Regions from separate parts of the Homo sapiens genome. Here regions 1, 2 and 3 are each linked to region 4. Evidence: promoter capture Hi-C in 16 types of primary human blood cells and fetal thymus (Javierre and others, 2016). All regions are on one chromosome and are shown on one strand. The core of a region is centred on a gene start or on the middle of the fragment in contact, and the rest is flanking DNA. Distances in the headings are between cores, read along the strand shown.

Region 1 (3,115 bases), core at 150-2,649, 300 kb before region 4:
CTCCCTGAGGCTCTGGCCCCTCTGTGGGCCCAGCCAAGCCTGGAGCGTCTCCAGGCTCTGGTGTGCTTGGGGAGCTGGCCAGCTCTCGGCCTAGCTGGCGTCTCCAGAGCTGCGGTCCTGGGTGAGGGTTGCTGGTGGAGTTCTGGCCACCTAAGGCACCCGAGGGAGCCAAAGGAGCAGAGGTGTGGGGTGGGGGACGCCGTGGGGTACCTCCACATCCAAGGAGGTCTGCTGTTTGTCCTCACCCCCGTCCTGCGGGGGCCCCGGCAGGCAGCCCCAGGAACTGCGTAGGGATGGGACAGGGCCCAGATGTGAGGGCCGTGGTGGGGACGGTGTGTGGCCCTGGATGACCTCGTGTTGCAGTGTGACGTGATGGTCACTGCCACCATGCTGAGGGCCCCAGCCACCAGTCACCCACCATGGGGGGTGCCTCTGTGTGAGGCACGGGAGGGCCATGGCGTGAGGGGCTGTGGAAGTGGCCGGTCTTCTCCGCTCAGCCCCACACAGGATGGGCAGGGCAGGGTCATGCTGGCCGAGGGTAGTCTTGGGAGAAGGACAGGGTAACTCTCTGTAGCTGAGCCCCTGCTGCCCCTGCACCTGTTCTGGGCCTGGCTAGCGGCCCATGTACATCCCCAGCAGGACTCCACGTAGCTAGTCTGGCACCCACCACTACGGCCCCCTCACCCACTCCCTGAACTGGACGCTGGGGAAAGGTGACTTCTTCCATCCTCTGGGTGCTCCCCAGGGAGGAGGCCCCAGCTCCCAGCAGAGGCCTCTGGTCCCCCCTTGTCCCTGCAGGGCTGTGTGGGCACACTGGGTGCCAGTCGGAAGGGCAGGTGGCGATTCCCAGCTCTTGGGAGCTACCCGGCCACATCCCGGCCCTGCCCAGACGCTCCAGGGGCACCCCACACTCCTGCCCGCTGCGAGGCCCCGCCCCGCCAAGCCCAGCCCGTTATCGCTTGGACAAACCCTGGGTTGCTTTCTTCGGGGGGCCAGCACTCTGTTTGGGACCCTCTCCCTCCCGCCCTTAGGGCAGCAGAACGGCCCCCACTCTCCCGGCCCTGCCTTGGAGTGGGGCACCTGCCAGGAGCAAGTGCTGGGGAGGCTTGGCGGGCGCAGCAGGGACTCGCCCTAGCGCAGCTCCGGATGGGGCCGCGGTAGGAGGACGAGCCAGTGGGGCGGGAGGCCGCGGAGATGGCCCGGGGGCCCTCTGCTTCCCCGCGCCGTGCCCGGGAAGGACCCCTGGGCAGCGGCCGCGGGGCGCGGGGTGTTGGGGGGCACAGCCCCGGCGCGGCGCTGAAGCAGCGACGGTCTCCGTGGGGACCGCGGGCGCCCGAAACACGTGGGGCCTGGAGGGAGGAGCGCGCCCTGGCGGCCCCGTGACCCCGCCCACGTGACGGGCGCCCGCGGAAGGCGACATGGGCTCCGCTCCCTGGGCCCCGGTCCTGCTGCTGGCGCTCGGGCTGCGCGGCCTCCAGGCGGGGGGTGAGTGGCGGCGCCCCCCGGCCCATTCCCCGGTCCCGGCCCCGCCTCTGAGGTTCGCGTCCCCCCACAGCCCGCAGGGCCCCGGACCCCGGCTTCCAGGAGCGCTTCTTCCAGCAGCGTCTGGACCACTTCAACTTCGAGCGCTTCGGCAACAAGACCTTCCCTCAGCGCTTCCTGGTGTCGGGTGAGACCCCGGCCCCGGCCCGGCCGCCCCCGCCGTCCCGCCGCCCCCCGGCACCCTCGCCTCATCCGCCCTCCCCACAGACAGGTTCTGGGTCCGGGGCGAGGGGCCCATCTTCTTCTACACTGGGAACGAGGGCGACGTGTGGGCCTTCGCCAACAACTCGGCCTTCGTCGCGGAGCTGGCGGCCGAGCGGGGGGCTCTACTGGTCTTCGCGGAGCACGTGGGTGCCGGGCGGGGTCGCGGGCGGGGTCGCGGGGCACGTGGGTGCCGGGCGGGGTCGCGGGCGGGGGTCGCGGGGCACGCGGGTGCCGGGCGGGGTCGCGGGCGGGGGTCGCGGGGCACGCGGGTGCCGGGCGGGGTCGCGGGCGGGGGTCGCGGGGCACGCGGGTGCCGGGCGGGGTCGCGGGGCCGGGCTCAATGGCACGTTCCCCCAGCGCTACTACGGGAAGTCGCTGCCGTTCGGTGCGCAGTCCACGCAGCGCGGGCACACGGAGCTGCTGACGGTGGAGCAGGCCCTGGCCGACTTCGCAGAGCTGCTCCGCGCGCTACGACGCGACCTCGGGGCCCAGGATGCCCCCGCCATCGCCTTCGGTGGAAGGTGGGCGCCTCCCCCGGCCTCCGCACCCCCTCCCTCCCCTGCCCCGACCCAGCGCCCCCAGCCCTTCTCCCCACTCCCCTCTGACTCCCACCGCTGCCTTTTCGTAAGGCCTCAGGCAGTGGTTCCAGGCTTAGTGTTGCCTCCCCCAGGAAGCCCTCCCACCTGTCCTCCCAGCCACCTGCTCAGCTTGGATGTGCGGCCACACTAGCGGCCTTTCCCAGTGAGAGCTGCACCCGCACCTGGCCCAGGGTTGGAATTTGTGGGTCTCAGAAGTGTCGTCCTCCTTGTGGCACCTGTGGGCCCCTGAGGAGGAAAAGAGGAAATGGGGTGTTGGGGGCAGCAGCCCTAACCCTGTGTCCCTCACCCAGTTATGGGGGGATGCTCAGTGCCTACCTGAGGATGAAGTATCCCCACCTGGTGGCGGGGGCGCTGGCGGCCAGCGCGCCCGTTCTAGCTGTGGCAGGCCTCGGCGACTCCAACCAGTTCTTCCGGGACGTCACGGCGGTGAGTGAGGCTTGGGGTCCTCCAGGCCCCCTAAGGGACAGCAGCTGCAGTCAGCACGGTCTCTTTCCCCCAGGACTTTGAGGGCCAGAGTCCCAAATGCACCCAGGGTGTGCGGGAAGCGTTCCGACAGATCAAGGACTTGTTCCTACAGGGAGGTGAGGTCCTCCCACCGCCTCCCACTGCCTGACCCGCCCCAGCGCCAGCTATGCCCAAACTTCAAGTCTCTGCCCCTTCCACGCAGCCTACGACACGGTCCGCTGGGAGTTCGGCACCTGCCAGCCGCTGTCAGACGAGAAGGACCTGACCCAGCTCTTCATGTTCGCCCGGAATGCCTTCACCGTGCT
Region 2 (3,048 bases), core at 544-3,043, 410 kb before region 4:
CAGTTACCCTCTGGCTGGCGGGCGTGGGGGCCACACGCGCCCCCCCAGCGTCCCCACCTTGGGCCCCCCGCCTCCAGCCGAACCCAGGCTCCATCTGCACCGGCGCAGGCAGGGGTGCAGCGGGCACTGGCGAGTGCCGCGGGGACGACCCACGGCAGTGGGGCCCTTGGGGCCCAGGGGAGCACCAGGAAGGGCGGGTTCCAGTCAGACGTGGCCTGTGTAGGGCCAGTCAGACCGGTCGGGACATGAGTTCAGGCAACCCGGCCCCGATTTGGGGAGAACTGGGTGCTCCTGGGGACCCAAAACTTGAGAGGCCGGCGACGGAAGTCCACTGCGCAGGCGCCGGAAGTCCCGCCCACCTCCCTGCCTGCCACTTGAGTGGCGCCTATGGCGCATGCGCAAACAAGGCAGGAACCGGCCGTGGAAATATTATTGCCCAGAAGCCCACGCGCTCCGGGGTTTCCCGAAAGACCCGGTTCGGATGTGACCAATACTCGGCTTGGGGTTCTCCAGCTCTGAATGGCGGGTCTGAAAAGGCCTGGCCTGGGGGGCGGGGCCTCGTGGCGGGGGCGGGATCTCATCCCCTACGGGGTGGGGTCTCGCTGAGGGGGCGGGGCCTGCGGCCTGGTGCTTCCTCGGGCGCACGCCGGGTCGGTGAGCAGAGTCTGCGGCGGAGCTGGGCTCCCGGCCCTCCCCAGGCCCAGGCTGCCTCAGTTGCCCCACCATCTTGCCAGGGCCCCGTAAGGACCCCTCCAGCAGCGCCCCTGTCACCCGCACACCTCTCCCTATTGCTCTTCTGAGTGACACTCGCCCGAGGCCCCACAGAGGGGCCAAGCCAGACCCTATGCGCAGGGCTGCTCCTCCAGCCTGTTTTGCCCACGCGAGCTCCCGCACCAGCGGCACCGTCCCCTCTGGGCTCAGCACTCTGCAGGCCCTGGGGCTCTGCCTAGAGCAGGTGCGGTCTGGCCAGTCCAGCGGAGAGAGGAGCTGAAGGAGGCCAGGATGTCCAGGGCCAGGTGCGGGGCCAGAGCTGGTCACAGCGTGGCAGCGGAGGCCCTCGAAGCCCTGGTCCCCTGCCTCACGGTGACCAGCAAGCCCGAGGGCTCCACAGGCAGAAGGCGGACCCAGGAGGGCAGGGAAGCCCCGGGTGAGGAAGCGGAGAGGCCCGGGCCTGCGCGCTGGAGTGCCAGGGGCCACCCTGTCCGGGCAGGTGCGGTCCTCAGGGCCGCCTCCACCCCGCACTGGGCTGCCAGCCTGTCCTTCGCGCACTCCCACCGGACCCGTCCGTCCACCGGCCTCGGCCTTCTGATCCGCTCCGCCCGCCCCGCTCTTGCCCCTTAGAGTCACAGCGATCTATCTGAGCTACGGCACCGGGCACAGGCGGAGCTGGAGGACTCGGGGCCTTCCCATGGGGCGGGGGGCCGGGGACGGGGGAAGGCACCGGTGGGCCCTGGAACCAGCTCCCCTGGGATCCTCCGCGCAGGTCCCCTCCCTCTCACTCCAGAGTCCTGAGGCCTCCTACTGTGAGGGAGGAGAACAGCCGGATTCTCCTCCTGAATCTGGGGGGGCGGGGGCTTGACCAGGACCCAGGATCAGCCTGGAGAGAACTGGGGGCGACGCGGGGGTCCTGCCCCCCACGCAGTCCGCGGGCGAGAGCGACGCCGGGAGCGGACCGAGGGGCGGCCGGGAGGCTGGCCCCGCCCCGCGGACCCCGCGCGGGTCCCCAGACGGGGGGTGGCGCTGCGGGCGCGGGCGGGCGCCGCGCGCACTGCGGTCCCCGCGCCTCCGCCGCAGAGCGCGCCACGCTCCGCACGCACCTGCCGCCGTCGCCGCCGTGCCGAAACCCGCGCCCCGCGCCCCACGCCCGCGCCCGCGCCCCTCGGTGCCGCCCGGGCCCCGCCATCGCCTGAGGTCGCTGCGGCCGCCGCCGGAGCCGCCGGAGCCCCCCGAGCTGCCGGGCCGAGGCGCGGGCGCCGCGTCCGGGCCTGCCTTTGAGACAACCTCTGCGGCGGCGGCGCGCGGCCGGGACGCCAGGCTGGGGCAGGTGAGCGCAGGGGGCGGGGGCCGGGGGCGGACTCAGCGCCCCTCCCCACGCGACGGGGGTCGGCCCTCGGGAAGGTGCGTCTGGCCTTGGAGGCGGGGACCGGGGAGGGGGTTGGGTTCTGAGGCCCGCGGAGGTCGGGATCCCACGGCTGAGGTCAGGGTCAGAGGTCGGGCGCCCGGTCCTTTGTGCAGGGCGAGGGCTAGGGTGGGGGTGGCCGGGGCACTGCCCTCATGCCGTCTCTCACCTGCAGCTCAGGCCTGGCCCAGGCCTCGCCTCTGCTCCTGCCGCGGAGCCTGCCGCCCCGGTCCTCCTGCAGCCAGCGCTTCGGCTAGCTGCCTTCCCTGGGCGCCCTGTCCTGGAGCCATGGGGCCCACCCAGCCCCTGCCTGCCCCGATGTCCCGGCCCGCGGCCTGCTGACCTCGGCTGCAGGGGGAGCCCCCCCCGCGCCCCCTCGCCAGCCTCAGCAGCCAGAGACCCTGGGTGAGACCCTGGGCCAGACCCCCAGCCCAGGGCAGCCTCCCACCCCTCCCTGCCCCCGCCTGCCTCCCCCTCCCCCACCCCTTCCTCCTCCTCCCAGGACTGGACCAGAGAAGCCACTGTGGCCACTGGGGGGGGCCCTGCACCCCCAACTCTCGCCGGCTGTCCCTAGGAGTCCACGGGCCGTCCGGGGCCCCCCCCAGGCCTGGCGGGACCAGGATGCTGCCCTGTCACCTGCCCCCCAGCCCCACACAACGCCCCCACCCACCCGAACATCCAGTCTGACTGGAGACAGCCGGATGCCCTCTGACCCCGGGCCCGAGGCGGGCAGTGGCTGGCCGGGCCTCCTCATGTCCTGCCTGAAGGGTCCCCATGTCATCCTCAAGATGGAGGCCATGAAGATTGTCCACCCTGAAAAGTTCCCTGAGCTACCGGCTGCCCCCTGCTTCCCGCCTGCTCCCCGGCCCACCCCAACTCTGGCACCCAAGCGTGCCTGGCCCTCAGACACAGAGATCATTGTCAACCAG
Region 3 (3,150 bases), core at 442-2,941, 390 kb before region 4:
CCCTGTCTCGATTCTGCTTGACCTATTGGGTCCGTTCCATGTCCCGGGGACTCTCTCTTCCTGACACCACTGCAATGTGTCCACTTCTATCTTCTGCCACCACTTCAGCTCAGATCGGTAGCATCTGCTGCCTGTCCTGTGCATCTCATGGCATTATTCCTGCTGTCCTGCAGACCAGTGCGGTTTTGCTAGCTTAGGAACATGACTGTGTCACCCCTACAGTTCCGACAACCCTTCATTTCAAGCCCATCTGCCTTGCTGTGGTTACTCAGGCTCTTTGGACTGGGCCTGGCTTCCTGCCTCTCTTCTCCTCCCCTCTTGCCCCAGTGTACTCCTCAGCTTGGCCACCCTGAGCTGCTTTCCACTTTTCACACAAACCAAATCATCTTTTTCCTCTGCGCTGACTGCTCCTTCTTCCTCGGTGCCTGACTAGCCCTCACGCATCCTTCCGTGACTCAGCTTACACTCTTTTCTTCCAGAAACCTCTGCCTGGGCCCCAAGGTTGGGTGAGATAAGGCTCGATGCCCCTTATCAGTGCTCCTGTGACATATGCTACTTTCCCCAGCAGCAGGTGTTTGCTGGCACTGTCATTGCCCGTTAGCTGCTTCTGCTACAGTGTGAACTCTGCCAGGATGGAAATATGGCTGCTGGGTTCACAGCTGGATCCCCAGCACCAGACTGTGCCAAGAATAGAATATGTGCTTAAAAGATGGTCAGAGAATTCAGCAACGTTCCCTGAGGGTCATACAGTCTAGAAATACACACAAGACCCAGACTAGATGCACATATAGATAGCCCTGGAAAAATAAGAAAGGTTAAAACGGATAATAAGGCTATTTGGTGGCTACGACGAGTTTATTAGAGAGGGCAACCGGAGCCCCCAGCCCCACTCACGGACGTTCTCTCAAATCCACCTCTGAAGGTGCATGAGATAAAGGAGAGCTATTTACTGCACCTAGACGCCAGGCAATGAAAACGGGGTGAGGGTCGAGGGCAGGGATCTGAGGAGCCACATCAGGCCAGCCTTACCTTCATGTTGTCAGGGGGGTCTCCTTGGCCTGTAGTTGCACAAACAAATATCACCAGGGGCTCGTTAATCAGATTCACCTCAACAAAAAGACACACACACGTAAGACCTCCGGCTGTAAGGACCGGGCGTCCTTCCCAAAACTTGACCCCCTTCTCCTTTACTCAGGCTGACAGGGCAGAGGGATTTATGTGAGCAGCCAGACCGTCTTCTCTTTCAGGTTCCAACCTCCTCCAGGTGCTAAACTGAACTCCCCTTCCCAAACCTCCTTCCCTAAATCCGCCATAAGGGAAAGACCCGCTCTCAGAGAAAATGCGACGCCTTTTGGGTCGATGACCCCGCGAGGCGGGCACGCCAGGCCTGCTCGTCCCCCACGCCGAGGCCCTAGCGAGCCCTCACCACCGGGTAGGAGTCCAGGGCCTGCACCCGGCAGCCAAGCCGCCGGCGCCGGGCCTCGCGACCCAGTCTCTCCGACACATCCTGAGCCGTGCCTGTCTGGCTGCCGAAGAGCACCAGAAGCTGCGGGCTCGGCATCGGGGTGCGCCCGGTGGTCTGGTCTGAGACTAAAAACTAGAAGGCAGTTCCCGCCGGCCGGGTTGCAGGGACCGCTCCGCCTTCCGCCTTCCGCCGTCGACCGGAAGTGACGCACTAGGGACGCGCCCTGTGGGGGCATGGCGTCCGATCGAGGCGGGCGTTCACGGGCGGCCAGGGTTGAGTCCCGGGTCGGGGCCGGGGGATTGCCGGCGCATCAGGGCCGAGGGCTGGGGCTGGCGGGGCCGCTCGCTGCCTCTCGCTCGCAGCAGCGGCGGCAGGCGCGGGCGAGGGCCACGGGGAGAGGAGACGCAGCCCCGCGGGTGGCACGCTCGGCCGGGCCCCGGCCCGCGCTCAACGGGCGCGATGCTCTTCTCGCTCCGGGAGCTGGTGCAGTGGCTAGGCTTCGCCACCTTCGAGATCTTCGTGCACCTGCTGGCCCTGTTGGTGTTCTCTGTGCTGCTGGCACTGCGTGTGGATGGCCTGGTCCCGGGCCTCTCCTGGTGGAACGTGTTCGTGCCTTTCTTCGCCGCTGACGGGCTCAGCACCTACTTCACCACCATCGTGTCCGTGCGCCTCTTCCAGGATGGAGAGAAGCGGCTGGCGGTGCTCCGCCTTTTCTGGGTACTTACGGTCCTGAGTCTCAAGTTCGTCTTCGAGATGCTGTTGTGCCAGAAGCTGGCGGAGCAGACTCGGGAGCTCTGGTTCGGCCTCATTACGTCCCCGCTCTTCATTCTCCTGCAGCTGCTCATGATCCGCGCCTGTCGGGTCAACTAGCCTCACCGAGGTGCCGGAGAGGGAGCGCTGGACAACTAGAATGTTGACCTCGAGCCGAGGCCCTACTTGCAGCGCACCGGAGGAGAGGCTCTCTAGTCTGAAGGCACCGCCGGCTTGCGCCGAGCTGAGTGCCGGGTTTCCCTATTCCAATCCTGTTTGAAATGGTTTCTTCAGCAGGGCTTAAAAGAGCAGCCTTCATCCTGAAAATGTATTTCCTTTTGTTTAATGCTTTGAGTAGATAATCCTGAATTGAGGTCATGAGGAGGCCCCCCAGGCCAGACAGTCCTGAACCCCTCTGACACTTGGAAACTGAATATAAGTAAAATGTCCAGGTGGACTCTGAGTATTTCCTGTGGATCCTGGGAAAGTACTGTTGCACAAAGGCTGCAAAGCTGGACTCAGGAATGTCCTCCAACCAGCAGCGCTGACCTAAGAGCTCCCTGTGCCGTCTATCCAGACCAGACTTCGGTAGATGCCTTTGTTAGATCTATCACATGTAAACGAGCTTGTATCTCCTTCCCTGTGCCACGAGAGAGATTGGCTTTTTATTCCAGTCTAGGCAGAGACAGAAGAATGTTGAATAAGAGCACGATTAGAGTCCTGTCTGGTTATCTGTTGCCCAAGAAAAGAACTCTGCTGTCCAGGCACTGCTTGGCTTACTATCCCAGCAAAGACTGCAGTTTTGTGGACTTTTGACCACCTTGGGCTGGCACTCTTAGCACACCTGAGACAGATTTAAGCCTCCCTAAGAGACTGAAGAGAGGAACAGGTGTCAGATACTCATAGGCACTGAGATCTACAAATGGGAAGCTTGT
Region 4 (2,766 bases), core at 244-2,743:
GAAGATGAAGAAGATGACAGCTGTGGAGAAGAGACTGTCACACCTCAGGAGAAAGGCAAGAAGGCTGCTGCAACCCCAGCCAAGAAGGTGACAGTTTCCCGAACAAAAAAGGCTGCAGGTGCCACACCCACCAAGAAAGCAACTGTCACTCCAGGCAAAGCAGTCGCCACACCTGCCAAGAAGGGAGCCATAGCAGGCAAAGCACTGGCAGCAGCTCCTGGCAAGAAGGGACACCCCAGCCAAGGGGGCAAAGAACGGCAAGAACGCCAAGAAGGAAGACAGCGATGAGGAGGAGGATGACTCTGAACCAGCAGTGATGAAGGCAGCAGCGGGTGCCCCTGCCTCAGGGGATGAGGACGAGGACGATGAGGACGATGCTGAGGAAGATGGCTCTGAAGCAGCACCTATGGAAACAACACCAGCCAAAGGAAAGAAAGCTTCTACAAATGCTGTTCCTGGGAAAGCCAAGAGGATGGCTGGGAATGAAGATGAAGAGGATGATGAGGACAAGGACGAGGGTGACGATGATGAAGAGGATGAAGTGATGAAGACGACAAAGAGGAGGAAGGGTCTGTCAAAGAAGCACCTGGAAAATGAAGGAAATGACCAAACAGCAGCTTCTGAAGCCAAGAAACACAAAGTGGAGAGTGAGAAGCACAGAACCAACTGTGCCTTTTTTTTTTTTTTAAGACAGGGTCTCACTCTCTCGCCCAGGTTGGACTGCAGTGGCGCAATCTTGGCTCACTGCAACCTTCACCTGCCAGGCTCAAGTGATTCTCCTGCTTCAGCCTCCTGAGTAGCTGGGATTACAGGCGTGTACCACTACCACCCGGCTAATTTTTGTATTTTTAGTAGAGACGGGGTTTCACCATGTTGGCCAGGCTGGAACGTCTTTCAATCTTTGTTGGAAACCTGAACTTTAACAAGTCTGCTCCTGAGTTAAAAACTAGTATCCATGGGCCAGGCCTGGTGGCTCACGCCTGTAATCCCAGCACTTTGGGAGGCTGAGGTGGACAGATCACAAGGTCAGGAGTTTGAGACCAGCCTGGCCAACATAATGAAACCCTGTCTCTACTAAAAATACAAAAATTAGCCGGGCGTAGTGGTGCGTGCCTGTAGTCCCAGCTACTGGGGAGGCTGAGGCAGGAGAATCACTTGAACCCGGGAGGTGGAAGCTGCAGTGAGCACCATTGCACTCCAGCCTGGGTAACAGAGCAAGACCCTGTCTCGAAAAAGAAAGAAAAACAAAAACTAGTATCCATGATATTTTTGCTAAAAATGATCTTGCTGTTGTGGATGTCAGAATGGGTATGACAAGGAAATCTGACTATGTGGATTTTCAAGCTGCTGAAGACCTGGAAAGAGCCTTGGAACTCGCTGGTTTGAAAGACTTTGGCAATGAAATTAAACTAGAGAAACCAAAAGGAAAAGACAGTAAGAAAGAGCAAGATGTGAGAATACTTTTGGCTACAAATCTCCCTTACAAAGTCACTCAGGATGAATTACAAGTGTTTTGGCTGGGCGCAGTGGCGCAGTGGCTCACACCTGTAATCCCAGCACTTTGGGAGGCCAAGGCAGGCAGATCACGAGGTCAGGAGATCAAGACCATCCTGGCTAACACGGTGAAACCCTGTCTCTACTAAAAATACAAAAAATTAGCTGGGTGTGGTGACGGGTGCCTGTAGTCCCAGCTACTCGGGAGGCTGAGGCAGGAAAATGGCGCAAACTTGGGAGGTGGAGCTTGCAGTGAGCTGAGATCACGGCCACTGCACTCCAGCCTGGGCAACAGAGCGAGACTCTGGCTCAAAAAACAAAAAAGTGTTTGAAGATGCTGTGGAGATTGGATTAGTCAGCAAGGATGGGAAGAGTAAAGGGACTGCTTATATTGAGGTTAAGACAGAAGCTAATGCAGAGAAAACTTCTGAAGAAACGCAGGGAACAGAGATGGATGGCCGATCTATTTCCCTGCACTATCATGGAGAGAAAGGTCTAAATCAAGACTAGAGAGACCACTTGGAGGGGTGAATCAAAAACTCTGGTTTAAGCAACCTCTCCTACAGTGCAACAGAAGAAACTCTTCAGAAAGAATCTGAGACAAGGCAACTTTTATCAAAGTGCCCCAGAACCAAAATGGCAAATCTAAAGGGTGTGCATGCACTTACAGTTCGCTTCATTTGAAGATGATAAAGCAGCTTTAAATTCCTGTAATAAAAGGGAAACTGGGGGCAGGGCAATCAGGCTGGAGTTGCAAGGACCACCTGATGCCAGGAGCCAGCCATCTAAAACTGTCTGTCAAAGGCCTGTCTGAGGACACCACTGAAGAGGCTTTAGTCATTCGACAGCTTTGTTGGGCAAGGGTAGTCACCAACCAGGAAACCGGGTGCCCCAAAGGCTTTGGCTCTGTAGATGGCAACAGTGAGGAGGATGCCAAAAGCGCCAAGGAGGCCGCGGAAGATGGTGAAATTGAGGGAAACAAAGGTAACTTGGACTGGGCCAAACCTAAGGGCGAAGGTGGCTTTGGGGTTGTGATGGAGGTAGAGGAAGCTTTGGAGGATGAGGTGGTGGCAGAAGCCAGGAAGGCTTTGGTGGGCGAGGCAGCTTCTGGGGAGGCAGAGGTGACCACAAGCCACAAGGAAAGAAGACAAAGTTTGAACGGCTTCTGTCCCTTTGTCTTTCCCTCTCCCATTTGAAAGAAAGGACGCTGGGGTTTTTATTCCGTTACCTGATCAATGACAGAGCTCTCTGAGGACATTCCAAGACAGTCTA

Evidence for each region. The method cuts DNA at HindIII sites, captures the fragments that hold promoters and counts their contacts. A CHiCAGO score of 5 or more calls a contact.
Region 1: a contact is called between the fragment with the promoter of DPP7 here and a fragment that was not itself captured in region 4, in 3 of 17 cell types (non-activated CD4 T cells, total CD8 T cells and naive B cells). The highest score is 5.4, in non-activated CD4 T cells.
Region 2: a contact is called between the fragment with the promoter of RNF208 here and a fragment that was not itself captured in region 4, in 3 of 17 cell types (naive B cells, total B cells and non-activated CD4 T cells). The highest score is 7.4, in naive B cells.
Region 3: the fragment with the promoter of TMEM203 here is called in contact with a fragment that was not itself captured in region 4 in 1 of 17 cell types (M2 macrophages); the score reaches 5.2 in M2 macrophages.

Annotation. Positions count from the first base shown.
Region 1 is chr9:137,113,017-137,116,131 of GRCh38, reverse strand. It overlaps DPP7 (dipeptidyl peptidase 7), which reads left to right and starts at 1,399. Exons shown (of 13, transcript NM_013379.3): 1 at 1,399-1,485; 2 at 1,556-1,669; 3 at 1,750-1,889; 4 at 2,104-2,267; 5 at 2,636-2,771; 6 at 2,845-2,926; 7 at 3,013-3,115. The coding sequence starts at 1,419. It overlaps LOC124902314 (a long non-coding RNA gene), which reads right to left and starts at 1,333. Exons shown (of 2, transcript XR_007061874.1): 1 at 1-1,333. RefSeq lists silencers at 1,174-1,523, 1,554-1,703. The HindIII fragment of the contact is 32,578 bases long and covers 1-3,115 here.
Region 2 is chr9:137,220,985-137,224,032 of GRCh38, reverse strand. RNF208 (ring finger protein 208) reads left to right here and starts at 1,793. Exons shown (of 2, transcript NM_031297.7): 1 at 1,793-2,044; 2 at 2,295-3,048. The coding sequence starts at 2,821. RefSeq lists silencers at 541-890, 1,201-1,250, 2,191-2,240. The HindIII fragment of the contact is 9,789 bases long and covers 1-3,048 here.
Region 3 is chr9:137,204,189-137,207,338 of GRCh38, reverse strand. TMEM203 (transmembrane protein 203) reads left to right here and starts at 1,691. Exons shown (of 1, transcript NM_053045.2): 1 at 1,691-3,150. The coding sequence starts at 1,925. The coding sequence ends at 2,335. NDOR1 (NADPH dependent diflavin oxidoreductase 1) reads right to left here and starts at 1,639. Exons shown (of 14, transcript NM_014434.4): 1 at 1,427-1,639; 2 at 1,030-1,107. The coding sequence starts at 1,561. RefSeq lists a silencer at 1,676-1,935. The HindIII fragment of the contact is 6,239 bases long and covers 1-3,147 here.
Region 4 is chr9:136,812,672-136,815,437 of GRCh38, reverse strand. All of the region lies in intron 1 of RABL6 (RAB, member RAS oncogene family like 6), which reads right to left. It also overlaps the pseudogene NCLP1. Among named protein-coding and RNA genes, the nearest start is that of CCDC183-AS1, 5.2 kb to the right of the region's middle. The HindIII fragment of the contact is 2,107 bases long and covers 440-2,546 here.